Regions from separate parts of the Homo sapiens genome. Here all the other regions are linked to region 3. Evidence: promoter capture Hi-C in 16 types of primary human blood cells and fetal thymus (Javierre and others, 2016). All regions are on one chromosome and are shown on one strand. The core of a region is centred on a gene start or on the middle of the fragment in contact, and the rest is flanking DNA. Distances in the headings are between cores, read along the strand shown.

Region 1 (2,700 bases), core at 200-2,699, 450 kb before region 3:
ACTCACTCAACCAGTTCACAAAGACTTGTCTCACCGACCTGGGACAACGCACAAAGAGAATGGGCAGGAGACCTAGGGTAAGCTTATATCATTAAAAGTCTGGCTTTCAAAATGTGCTGAAATGCCTTAAGTATAAATGTTTGGCATTTAAACCTGCCATGATGATTTTCACTTCTTTGGAGGGTTAGGGGGAGGCAGTGTCTTGCTCTGTCACCCAGGCTGGAGTGCAGTGGTGCAATCTCTGCTTACTGCAACCTCTGCCTCCTGGGTTCAAACAATTCTCGTGTCTCAGCCTCCCGAGTAGTTGGGATTACAGGCATGCACCACCACACCTGGATACTTTTTGTATTTTTAGTAGCCATAGGGTTTCACCAAGTTGGCCAGGCTGGTCTCAGACTCCTGGACTCAAGTGATCTGCCCACCTGAGCCTCCTGAAGTGCTGGAATTACAGGTGTGAGCCACTGCACCCGGCCTATGATTTCTTCTTTTTCTTTTTTTTTGTTTTTTGAGATGGAGTCTCACTCTGTCGTCCAGGCTGGAGTACAATGGTGCAATCTTGGCTCACTGCAACCTCTGACTCCCGGGTTCAAGCGATTTTTGTGTCTCAGCCTCCCAAGTAGCTGGGATTACAGGCACCCACCACCATGCTTGGCTAATTTTTGTGTTTTTAGTAGAGATGGGGTTTCAACATGTTGGCCAGGCTGGTCTCAAACTCCTGACCTCAAGTGATCCGCCCGCCTCGGCCTCCCAAAGTGCCGGGATTACAGGTCTGAGCCACCGCGCCCACCCTGTGATTTATTCTTAATTCAGCTGAATACAATTCATGCCACTGAGGGATCAGACTATCAGCTGCTGAATGTTGTTTCACACCAAAGAAACAGCACTCAGCCTCACAACGGGATCACTTTGTTCTCCTCATCCCCTGACACGGACGTGCCTACAGGAGAGTAGGGACAGAGTGGGCCCTTGGCTGTTTTGGTGACACCAATAAACCTAGCAGAGGGGCCAGGCAGCAGCTGGCAACTTCCCACAGCGCCCCCCAGCGTGCAGTGATGCGCTAGACATCTCGCCCCTGTACCTTTTGCGTGGTCTTTATCCAGCTGGTTGGCCACTTTCTTCCATTCTTCCATCTGTTCTTGAAGTGGGTTTATCAGACAATCAATTAAAGCGCTTTTACCAAGCGGGGGGGAAAAAGGGAGAAATTAAATAGATACATTCTGTTGTCAGGATTTAAATGTGGTTGTCAAAACATACCTAAATCACAATTACCCGAAACGTTCTCATCTAAACCCCGGGGCTCCAGAACAGCCATGTTCCAAGAATGCTTTTCTTTTAAGACAGAGTCTCGCTCTGTCACCAGGCTGGAGTGCAGTGGCGCGATCTCGGCTCACTGCAACCACCACCTCCCAGGTTCAAGCGATTCCCCTGCCTCAGCCTCCCAGGTAGCTGGGACTACAGGAACACATCACCATGCCCAACTAATTTTTTGTATTTTAGTAGAGATGGGTTTTCACCATGTTGGCCAGGATGGTCTTGATCTCCTGACCTCATGAGCCGCCTGCCTTGGCCTCCCAAAGTGCTGGGATTACAGGCGAGAGCCACCGCGCCTGGCCCCAAGAATGTTTTTCAATGACTACTAAGAAGCTGTCAATGTGACTGGTGGGAGTGACCCTTCTTCCCATTTTCCCTGTGATATTCTAGTGTTTGTATTAACAAGCCAAGTTGCAGAACCACAGGGGTCACCCCTCTGAGAGCTGCACAACAGGGACCCCCAAAATGCAAAGACACCTGGGCCTTATCTCACCCCCAATGGAGACTTTGAGGGTGGGGCCCAGCATCACTATTTTTAAAAAAGACCCACAAGATTCTGCTGTGCATGCGGCATGACAGGTCATAAATATACACTAAGTATGCACAGCCTGGAGAAAGAGAAGAGTGACGAGACCCAGAAAATTCTCGAGCTGCACTGCCAGCCTCGGGGTTACTGAGGGGTGAAGGTCTCTGAAGGTGTGCCCCTTCATTTTGTGCAGTCTCCCAAACAGAATCACATAAAACTGCTGAATGATGCTGATCTGCTTGGAAAGCAATGTCCATTTTCACTTGAACATTTGTAACCCAATTCCGGTGCCAGCTACTACCATTTCTTCCCTATTCTGGATGCCTGGAAGCCAGATGGGAAGCTGGCGGTGTGGAGTGGTCTGTGAGCTGCCACATCCCTCAGTGAGTCTGGAGGATGCACACAGGATACCAAGGCACATCTCACTCTCCAATTTCACAGCCCCTCTTCTTGCGAGGCTCCCGCAGGGCAGTGGGGGCCCAAAAGACCTCAGCAGGCTGCACCGGCTCCTTGCACAGACAAAGGGTAAGGAGAGACCCATGCAGGAGCACAGGCTCTGTGAAGGCAGGGGCCTGGCTGGCTGGTGATCTGCTGCACCCCCAGGGCCTCGACCAGTGCCTGGTATGCAGCAGATGCCTAACAATACTCAGGCAATGAATGAGCCAAGTCAGACAGATTGTGGGGATTTAAATGCTGTGTGCCACACATGACTGCTTCCTTAACCTGAAATCTGCAAGGGTGTTGGCGATCGGGGCCAAAACATGCTCCTCACCTCGAAAACTGCCTCAGCTTGGCTTCAATGCTTCTGTGCCTCATGCACATCCTGGTGAGAGCAGATCCAATCTCCCTGGTCCCACCTGAAA
Region 2 (2,700 bases), core at 32-2,531, 470 kb before region 3:
GTTGGGTCAATCTCAATCAAAGAGCCTCTGTCTGGATAGAAGGATCTGCTCCTAAAGACAAAGGTGGCAAGCATCCGCTCTCCTGGCTCTGGGGGCCCATGGGAATCCTTGGCAGTTCCTTTGACTCTCTAGTGGAGAGTCTTGAATGCTCTTGCTGTAGAACAAGCCCAGTAATAACAAGACCTCCAGACAGGTCTCTGATGATGAAAAACTGAAAGTGGGGTCTATGCGGAGCCTGGCCCATGTTTAGGAATTATCTGGCCAGGTCCACAGACCCCAGTTAGGTGCAGGCAACCACTTCTGGAGTTTAAGACAGGGTGTTAGTCTTTTGAATGACTAACACATGGTCAGCAAACCATCTTTGCAAATAAAGTTTTATTAGAACACAGCCAAATCCATTTATTTACCATATTGCCTGTACCAGTTCTCCCTACAATGGCAGAGTAGTGTGACACAGAGTATGGCCCCCAGACCATGGCCTCTTGCAAAAGAAGCCTGCTGCCCTAAAAGATAAACATGGACCAAGAGGCACTGTGTCCAAAGGAGCAGCTACTACAAATCTGATCTGTAGGTGGGGACAGCAGGGTGACAGCAGGGGACACCAGCTCATGAGCTTCCACCTTGGGCTGCCTATGCAGGGGCCTTACCTATCACTCAAACCAGAGAGATACTTCCTAAACTTCTTCAGGGCAGGATTTTGGTCTTTCCCAGCACAGCCCCTAGTACAATGTCATGTGTGTATACAGCAGGTGCTTGATAAATGTCTGTTTAATAGTTTCAACACAAAATGTTAGAGCTGGAAGGGGTTATCCAATTGGGCCAATCTGCTCATGTTTCAATGGAGACCAAGTCCTAGAGAAGTCAAGGGACTCACCTAAGGTCACAGAAAGAATGGTACAGAGGCAGGGTTGAGCCACACTGCCTAATTCCCTTAACACTGAACCTATTCTCTGCCCCACCGCCTCGCAGGAAGGGCCCTGCAGTTTCCATCTATCCCTCTTAGTGATGTAGAGAACATTAAATGCAATGAACCATTTGGTCTGAAGAAAGAAAGGGTCAGGGAAAATTGCCTTGGATGTAGGAACATATTCTGTATTTTTCACTCATAAGCAGAGGAGAAAGTTTAATTTGGAGCAAGAGGCAATCAGGCTTAAAGCACATCCCAATAGAAAAGGTAGTCAGATTTTAGTAAGGAAAAGTCACTTCTCAGACAGGGAATAAGTTCTAAGTTAGCACATTATGAGAAAATTATAGTCAAAGATCACCCTTGAAAATGCCTTAGATGGCCAGTAAATACAGTATGGACAGCTTTGTGTATATAACTCTCATCAGTCAAGTGAGTACAAATGTGTAGATAGTATGTATCTAAGTCCACGGAGGGGTGCTACCCAACGATTATACTACACTGGCCCCTCCTCTGTGGTTTTGCTTTCCAAAGTTTCAGCTACCCATGGTGTGGTAAAATACGGTATTTTGAAAGAGAGAAAGAGACTACATTCGCATGACTTTTATTACAGTATATTGTTATAATTGTTCTATTATTATTGTTGTTAATCTCTTACTGTGCCTAAATTATGTATTAAACTTTACCATAGACATGTATGCATGGGAAAAACCACAGTATATGTAAGGTTCGGGTACTATCTGCAGTTTTAGGCATCCACGGGGGGTCTTGGAACATATCCCCTGAGGAGAAGGGGGAACTACTATATATAAGAAATTTGCTGCTTGAGAAGTCTCTGCATAATTTTCTCCTTTTTGGAGACAGAGTCTTGCTCTGTCACTCAGGCTGGAGTGCAGTGGAATGATCATAGCTCATTGCAGCCTCAGCCTCTTAAGCAGCTGGGACTACCAGCGTGCACCACCATGCCCAGCTAGTTTTTCAATTTTTTTTTATAAAGATTGGGTCTTGCTTTATTGGCCAGACGGTCTTGAACTCCTGGCCTCAAGTGATCCTCCCACCTCAGCCTCCCAAAGTGCTGGGATTACAGACATGAGCCACAGCGCCTGGGTGTTTCAGCATATTTTCAAGGTGACCCACTCACCCATTCTTCCATGTAGTCACTACCTCCACCCCTCAGAATAATTCTTTACCATGCCTTCAATTTCTTCCTCAAGGATGTAGGAGTAATCATCACCATACATTAATCTGGCCACCTGAGCCACTGGTTTCATGTGTTTTTAGTAGACAAGAAACCTGTAAAAACATTCTCCCATTCTCTCCTGGAATCTGCCTCAGGGCAGGTGCTCTGTTCACAGAGACCCACCACCTGTGGCCAACGGCTTACAGAGGGAAGGCTGGGTGCCACCAGCACTATGAAAACTGTGAGTTTTCTCTTCTATTTTAAAATGCTGGCTAGTGCAAAATTAATCCAGATATACTTAATGTGTGTATGATACGAGTCCACCAGCAGGGAAGCTCTGGAAAGCTGTAAACCCTTGCTTTTCCTCTGCAAGCAGCCAAACAGCATGGCCAATTGTGGGCCTTGTTGGGTCACATGACTCAGGGCTGGTCTAGAGGGCTACTTCTAGTCTCTCGATCTATTCTATGATGTTCTAATAACAAAACACAGAGGGCTGCAGACCACCTCAGAATGTTCTCAACTCTCGTGTAGGATGGTGAACAGAAGTCGGGAGACACCAGATTGAGACACATTGTGTTTGACCAAACTTGCTCGGTGGGCTTTGATTATGGTAGCA
Region 3 (2,700 bases), core at 114-2,613:
AGGATATGAGTTCCCTCTAGGACAGGCCTCCATAACCACTCTTGGTAATCAACACACTTCCAACTGCCCTCTGGATGATGAGTGATCAGCCCTGTAAAAAGCCAGTTGCGGATTTTGGTAATAATTGCTTTCTAAAATCTGTGCAAGTATCTAGCAGTGTCTGGTGTGTCTCTCACTCGCTCTCTCTAATGAATTCATTTGTTCAGCAGACATGTATTGAATCATGTGATCAGTACCTGTCTGCTGAATACACGAATCCATTAGAGAGAGTGAGTGAGAGACAGAGATAAACGGAGGGACAATACTGAGGAAAGAGGCTCCGAAGACAGATTTGATTATCCGTGGCAAGGAAGCCTGTAAATTCAGACCTTCCACCCAAAAATAACTTAAAAGAGTAAGAACTGAAGAAACTGGGGTGCGTAGATAATAAACAATCCAAGCCCACGGATGGCTGTTTCAAACCCTGGCACTTACTTATTGAGATTCTCCAGAGCAGCTGCCAGATGTTTAGAATCAAACCGACAAGAATAATTTAATTCATTGGCAATCTGTTGTCTCAGAATCTGCATCTGCCCAACCTGTGCACAAGCAAGAGAAAGAACAGGTAGTGCATTCAAGCATTTCAGAGTGACAGTGAGGAGGTAAACACAAAGATGACAATTCTTCACTGGGCCTTCACATCACTCTACAGGAAAAAAAATAAGGATTTCCTGAACTGATCTCTTGGCTAAGACCAGCACTGGATCTAATGAAGCACCAGAGGCCCTTCAAGGAATGTCTGGATGGATTCCCATACCCCAACCTAAAAATACCCCAAAGTCTATGATTCACAAAGTGATCTATTAATGTTCAGTTGTTCATGTATCAAAGATGTCTTTTTTGAAGCTATATTTTTAACCTTTTGGAATAAGTGCTCCAAATTTAGTAGCTGCTGTGAGAAGTCTTACTTACTTCCTTTTATTTATCCTAAATGGAACTTTCTCAAGCTCTAGGAATGCCATTTCACACTAGTATTCTCAAATTGGGTGAATATTAAGTCTGTCCATGCCACTCAGGATTATAGGTTCTATAATTATCTGGATTACAAAATAATCTACATAAAATCTTTCACGAAAATTTTAACAATGATAGCCCCTTAATCCAGGGTTCTTAATTTTTTTTGTGTGTCTGATATGGTTTGGCTGTGCCCCCACCCAAATTTCATCTTGAATTGTAGTTCCCATAATCCCCATGTGTCATGGGAGGGACCCAGTGGGAGGTAATTGAATTATGGGGGTGGTTACCTCCATACTGTTCTCGTAATAGTGGATGAGTTCTCACGAGATCTGATGGTTTTATAAGAGGCTTTTCTCCTTTTGATTATATTTCTCTTTCCTGTTGCCATGTGAAGAAGGACATGTTTGCTTCCACTTCCACCATGGTTGTAAGTTTCCTGAGGCCTCCACAGCCATGCTGAACTGTGAGTCAATCGAACCTCTTTCCTTTATAAATTACCCAGTCTTGAGTATGTCTTTATTATGTGAGAATTGACTAATATAGCCTTGGACCCCTTTGGGAATCTGGTGAAGCCTATGGACACCATTTCAGAATAACGTTTTTGAATGTACAAAATAAAACATAGAGGGTAACAGTGGAAGCCAGTTGTAATGAAATATAATTAACCATTCAAAGAACAAATCTGTGATATAGAGTTATGCTAGGATGGTGTATTAACTACAGTACTTTAAAAGTAGCTATGAGCATAAATGATACTTGGAGATTATCTGCAATGGTTGGATGATAGGAAGCGATCTTTGGGTCAGGCTTGAGAGTTCAGTTTGCCCTCATAATGTTGTCTGCATCATAAGGTCAACAGCACACTCTAACTTTTTCTGCCTATAAATGTCTTCTTTTCTACTCGGACAAAGTATTCCTAAAAGACTGGCAAAGGGGAGTGAGGGAGGTGGGGAGAGGAGGGAAGACAGTATTATAATGCAAGCAGCAATAAGGTGGAAATAAATGCATTTCCTCTGAGTTGCTGGGGGCAGAGAAGAGTTAAGGAAAAGACAGGGGCTCACGCCTGCAATCCCAGCACTTTGGGAGGCCGAGGCAGGCTGATCGCTTGAGGCTAGGAGTTCGAGACCAAGCCTGGCCAAAATGGTAAAACTCTGTTTCTACTAAAAATAAAAAAATTAGCTGGGTATGGTGGTGGACACCTGTAATCCCAGATACTTGGAAGGCTGAGGTATGAGAAACACTTGAACCCAGGAGGTAGAGGTTGCAGTGAGCCAAGATTGTGCCACTGCACTCCAGCCCAGGCGACAGAGTGAGACTGTCTCAAAAAAAAAAGAAAAGGAGGGTGGCCTTCTCTAAGAATGAGCAAAAGTTACTTAGCTAAATGGAGCTTGTAATGGTCAAAAGTATTAAATGACCTCAGATGTATTATTTTTGACCACTATTCATACAAGACTATTACTCTATTTATGTGAAAAACGTCAATCCAAAAATGCTATTTATAAATAGGAAGTGTTTGAATTTATAGAGTAGCATTATTTAAAAATTAGAATGCAGCAAATCCAAGAAAATAGTAGGTTCTTTCAGGCCACATAAAAATGTCCCTGAAACCCTGTATCTGGCCCATATAATTCTTTGCTTAATTTTCTATGTGTAGTATACTCTGTGTCAAGGATCCTCTTGAAAATATCAATCTAGAACTGGAAA
Region 4 (2,700 bases), core at 49-2,548, 490 kb before region 3:
GATATTTGAATTCATGATTTGGAAGTTGTGCTGGTTCTGGTGATAACACTGAGGATATTGACCTTTGGAAGTGTTTGGCCAAGGGGGACCCGAAGGAAGGGCACTGTGGCCAAAGGGGGCAGTGTTTTGTCAGAAATGTCTCACCGTTTAGAAGCTTGAAGTATATGCATGGTGAGCCGCAGGTGCATTCTGCAATTGATCACTGGGATAACATCAAACAATTCCTCCTTTACACATCCCATCACTTCAACACTATTAAGCAGCACGTGTGACTGGAGGCCCAGGGCAGCCACAATCCAGAATGGGTGATCTTCTGTTAGGACATTTATCTTGGCCATAACTAGAACTGGAGGTAGTAGGGCAGCACTTGGCAGAACTGAGCATATTTTTACATGTAATTTTGTGATTTATTTTTGTTCTTGGTTGCTAGGAAGGGGGCTTAGAATTAACATCCCCAGCATATTATGAACTGAGGTTTCTTAATGGTGCTTTTGGAGAACACTTAGCTGAGACACAACAATAAATGTTTTTCTGGTCAGTGGGTGGGGGCTGTGACAAGGAGAATTGGAATGATAGTTGTCATTTTTCTGTCTGCAGAATAAGAGGAGGTCCAGATAATGAGGTGATGAAAAGGGGTAGGGGGAAGAATAGGAAGGGTAGGCTTTGCTATTTAAAAGAATGGGAAAACCCTTAAGGAGACTTTTCTAAAAGTGTGGATATGAAAATAAAGCAGGTATATGTAAAAAACACTTTTCAATATTGTGATCAGATAGTGTGTAATGTCAGTGACACACCATAGACATAAAGCTGACCCTTCACTGCAGCAGACAGATTTTTATAGTCAATTAGATTCCTTTGGTAATGATTCCTTCCTTGCCTCCTTCTAGGTTAAGCAGCTGCAGGAGGAAACGCCACCTGGTGGTCCTTTAACTGAAGCTTTGCCCCCTGCCCGAAAGGAAGGTGATTTGCCCCCACTGTGGTGGTATATTGTGACCAGACCCCGGGAGCGGCCCATGTAGAAAGAGAGAGACCTCATCTTTCATGCTTGCAAGTGAAATATGTTACAGAACATGCACTTGCCCTAATAAAAAATCAGTGAAATGGTCTCTGGTATGACTGACGTTCTTCTAAGAATTACTGTGATGCCAAGTGACTGTGCCACTGTCATTGTTTTATCAATCGTGCATGTAAAGAAAATGACAGGACATGTAGTCAGTCAGCTGTGTTCTCTGCAATAAATCACTGATAGCATATGTTACCAGTAAGGAAAAACTGAGGCAGAACCAGATTGAGGCGAACAAACTCTCAAGTCAAAGGCCTAATTAGCTGTGGTAACTAGAAGGAATAAACAAAGCCAAGAACAGAAATACTGAGGATTTAAAAATAACCTTTTTGGTTTTCTAAAGATTTCACTAATGGAACTTAGTTTTTATTAGAAGAACAACTCTCCCTAAGAAGTACATAGTCAACAAATAAGCATGGAATTTGTGGAGTTCTGTCAGGGGTGGAGGTTTGATGGTTGGGGTTAAATGGTCCAATCTGGGATAAAACTTTGTGGCGCTTATTTTAGAAGCAGTTTTCCAGCTTTGCTTCTGCTACCGTAGCTTGGATTGTCTGCGGACTCAAAGGTAAGGGAATAACAGAACTCCTTAAATGTTTCAGAAGCTTTGTTTTTGTTTTTTAAAGATAAAGCAGTTTTTAAAACTTTCAACCCAAAACAGCTGCTTTTAGTTCTTGATCCCTCATTAGCTAGAACTGTTTTCAAATAGTTTCAGGCAACTAATGATCTTATAGCCATCACAAAAATATTTTGTCACTTTTCTACGTAAGCTCAATTTGAGTCCCAGTCCATCTTCTAACATTTGACTAAGACCTCAAACTGAATTGTAACAAGACTTGAAATACAGGACTTTTTTAATCTAGTGGTTCTTTATTTATAACGTAGGCTGAAGCAATTGTTACAATGTAGGAGGGAGACACATTACACAATTGTTATTTATACAAGTTTAGAACAAAAAACTGCACAGGGAGAGGTCAACTCTCAGTACAAACTAGCAACTAAAGCACAATAATTTACTGTTAGAAACGATTTCTTTCTTTTTAGCTGTGACACTGCTTTTACAATATGCAAAAACACAAGCAGAACTACCCAAGGTGTGTTGTCACATTCTTTCTACATTGAATTTGGCAACATTTTATTTATTCAGATTATACTAACGTTTAAAAACTAAACAAGTGAAAAGCTGTACCAAGGTACAGTTACATCCATTTATTTCAAAGGTTTAAAATACCACTTTTATCTATTGTGATTACCTTGCAGCGATTTCTGCTTTTGCAAAAACCATCTCAAGCATCATATGCACAATGCATCAGCTACTTTTAGTCATCAAGATTGGTGGGCTAAACCACAGGCACTACTGTTGTTTATATTCTGTAAAAGGAGCTTGTTTTTCAAAGAAAAAAGCTTAAATAGTTTCTAATAATCATGCCTTTGCTTTAAAGCCGTAACATAAAATGTCCTTGAGCAATCGCAGCAGTGTTCAATGTTAATATATAGAACAATGACCATACGGTACGTTACTCTCACATCCAATGCAGTTATGTGTTAAAGCATAAGATTAGGTAATTGAGGGTTAGAGCCAACAGGAATCTGCAGGGTGTATGAAACCCACCAAACTCCTCCTCTGCCTTGAGAGGGTT

Evidence for each region. Contacts are between HindIII fragments. The CHiCAGO score rates a contact against its expected background, and 5 or more counts as called.
Region 1: a fragment that was not itself captured here is called in contact with the fragment with the promoter of WASHC5-AS1 in region 3 in 10 of 17 cell types (megakaryocytes, M2 macrophages, M0 macrophages and 7 more); the score reaches 13.3 in megakaryocytes.
Region 2: a fragment that was not itself captured here is called in contact with the fragment with the promoter of WASHC5-AS1 in region 3 in 9 of 17 cell types (megakaryocytes, M1 macrophages, erythroblasts and 6 more); the score reaches 17.2 in megakaryocytes.
Region 4: a contact is called between a fragment that was not itself captured here and the fragment with the promoter of WASHC5-AS1 in region 3, in 6 of 17 cell types (erythroblasts, megakaryocytes, endothelial precursors and 3 more). The highest score is 13.2, in erythroblasts.

Annotation. Positions count from the first base shown.
Region 1 is chr8:124,588,542-124,591,241 of GRCh38, forward strand. MTSS1 (MTSS I-BAR domain containing 1) reads right to left here. Exons shown (of 14, transcript NM_014751.6): 4 at 2,610-2,694; 5 at 1,079-1,170. Among named protein-coding and RNA genes, the nearest start is that of NDUFB9, 51 kb to the left of the region's middle. The HindIII fragment of the contact is 2,738 bases long and covers 81-2,700 here.
Region 2 is chr8:124,568,960-124,571,659 of GRCh38, forward strand. All of the region lies in intron 6 of MTSS1 (MTSS I-BAR domain containing 1), which reads right to left. All of the region lies in intron 1 of LOC105375740 (a long non-coding RNA gene), which reads left to right. Among named protein-coding and RNA genes, the nearest start is that of NDUFB9, 31 kb to the left of the region's middle. The HindIII fragment of the contact is 8,842 bases long and covers 1-2,700 here.
Region 3 is chr8:125,039,321-125,042,020 of GRCh38, forward strand. It overlaps WASHC5-AS1 (WASHC5 antisense RNA 1), which reads left to right and starts at 1,364. Exons shown (of 2, transcript NR_170219.1): 1 at 1,364-1,459. It overlaps WASHC5 (WASH complex subunit 5), which reads right to left. Exons shown (of 29, transcript NM_014846.4): 24 at 475-578. The HindIII fragment of the contact is 6,314 bases long and covers 1-2,700 here.
Region 4 is chr8:124,548,874-124,551,573 of GRCh38, forward strand. NDUFB9 (NADH:ubiquinone oxidoreductase subunit B9) reads left to right here. Exons shown (of 4, transcript NM_005005.3): 4 at 888-1,106. The coding sequence ends at 1,019. It overlaps MTSS1 (MTSS I-BAR domain containing 1), which reads right to left. Exons shown (of 14, transcript NM_014751.6): 14 at 1,911-2,700. Among named protein-coding and RNA genes, the nearest start is that of NDUFB9, 11 kb to the left of the region's middle. The HindIII fragment of the contact is 729 bases long and covers 935-1,663 here.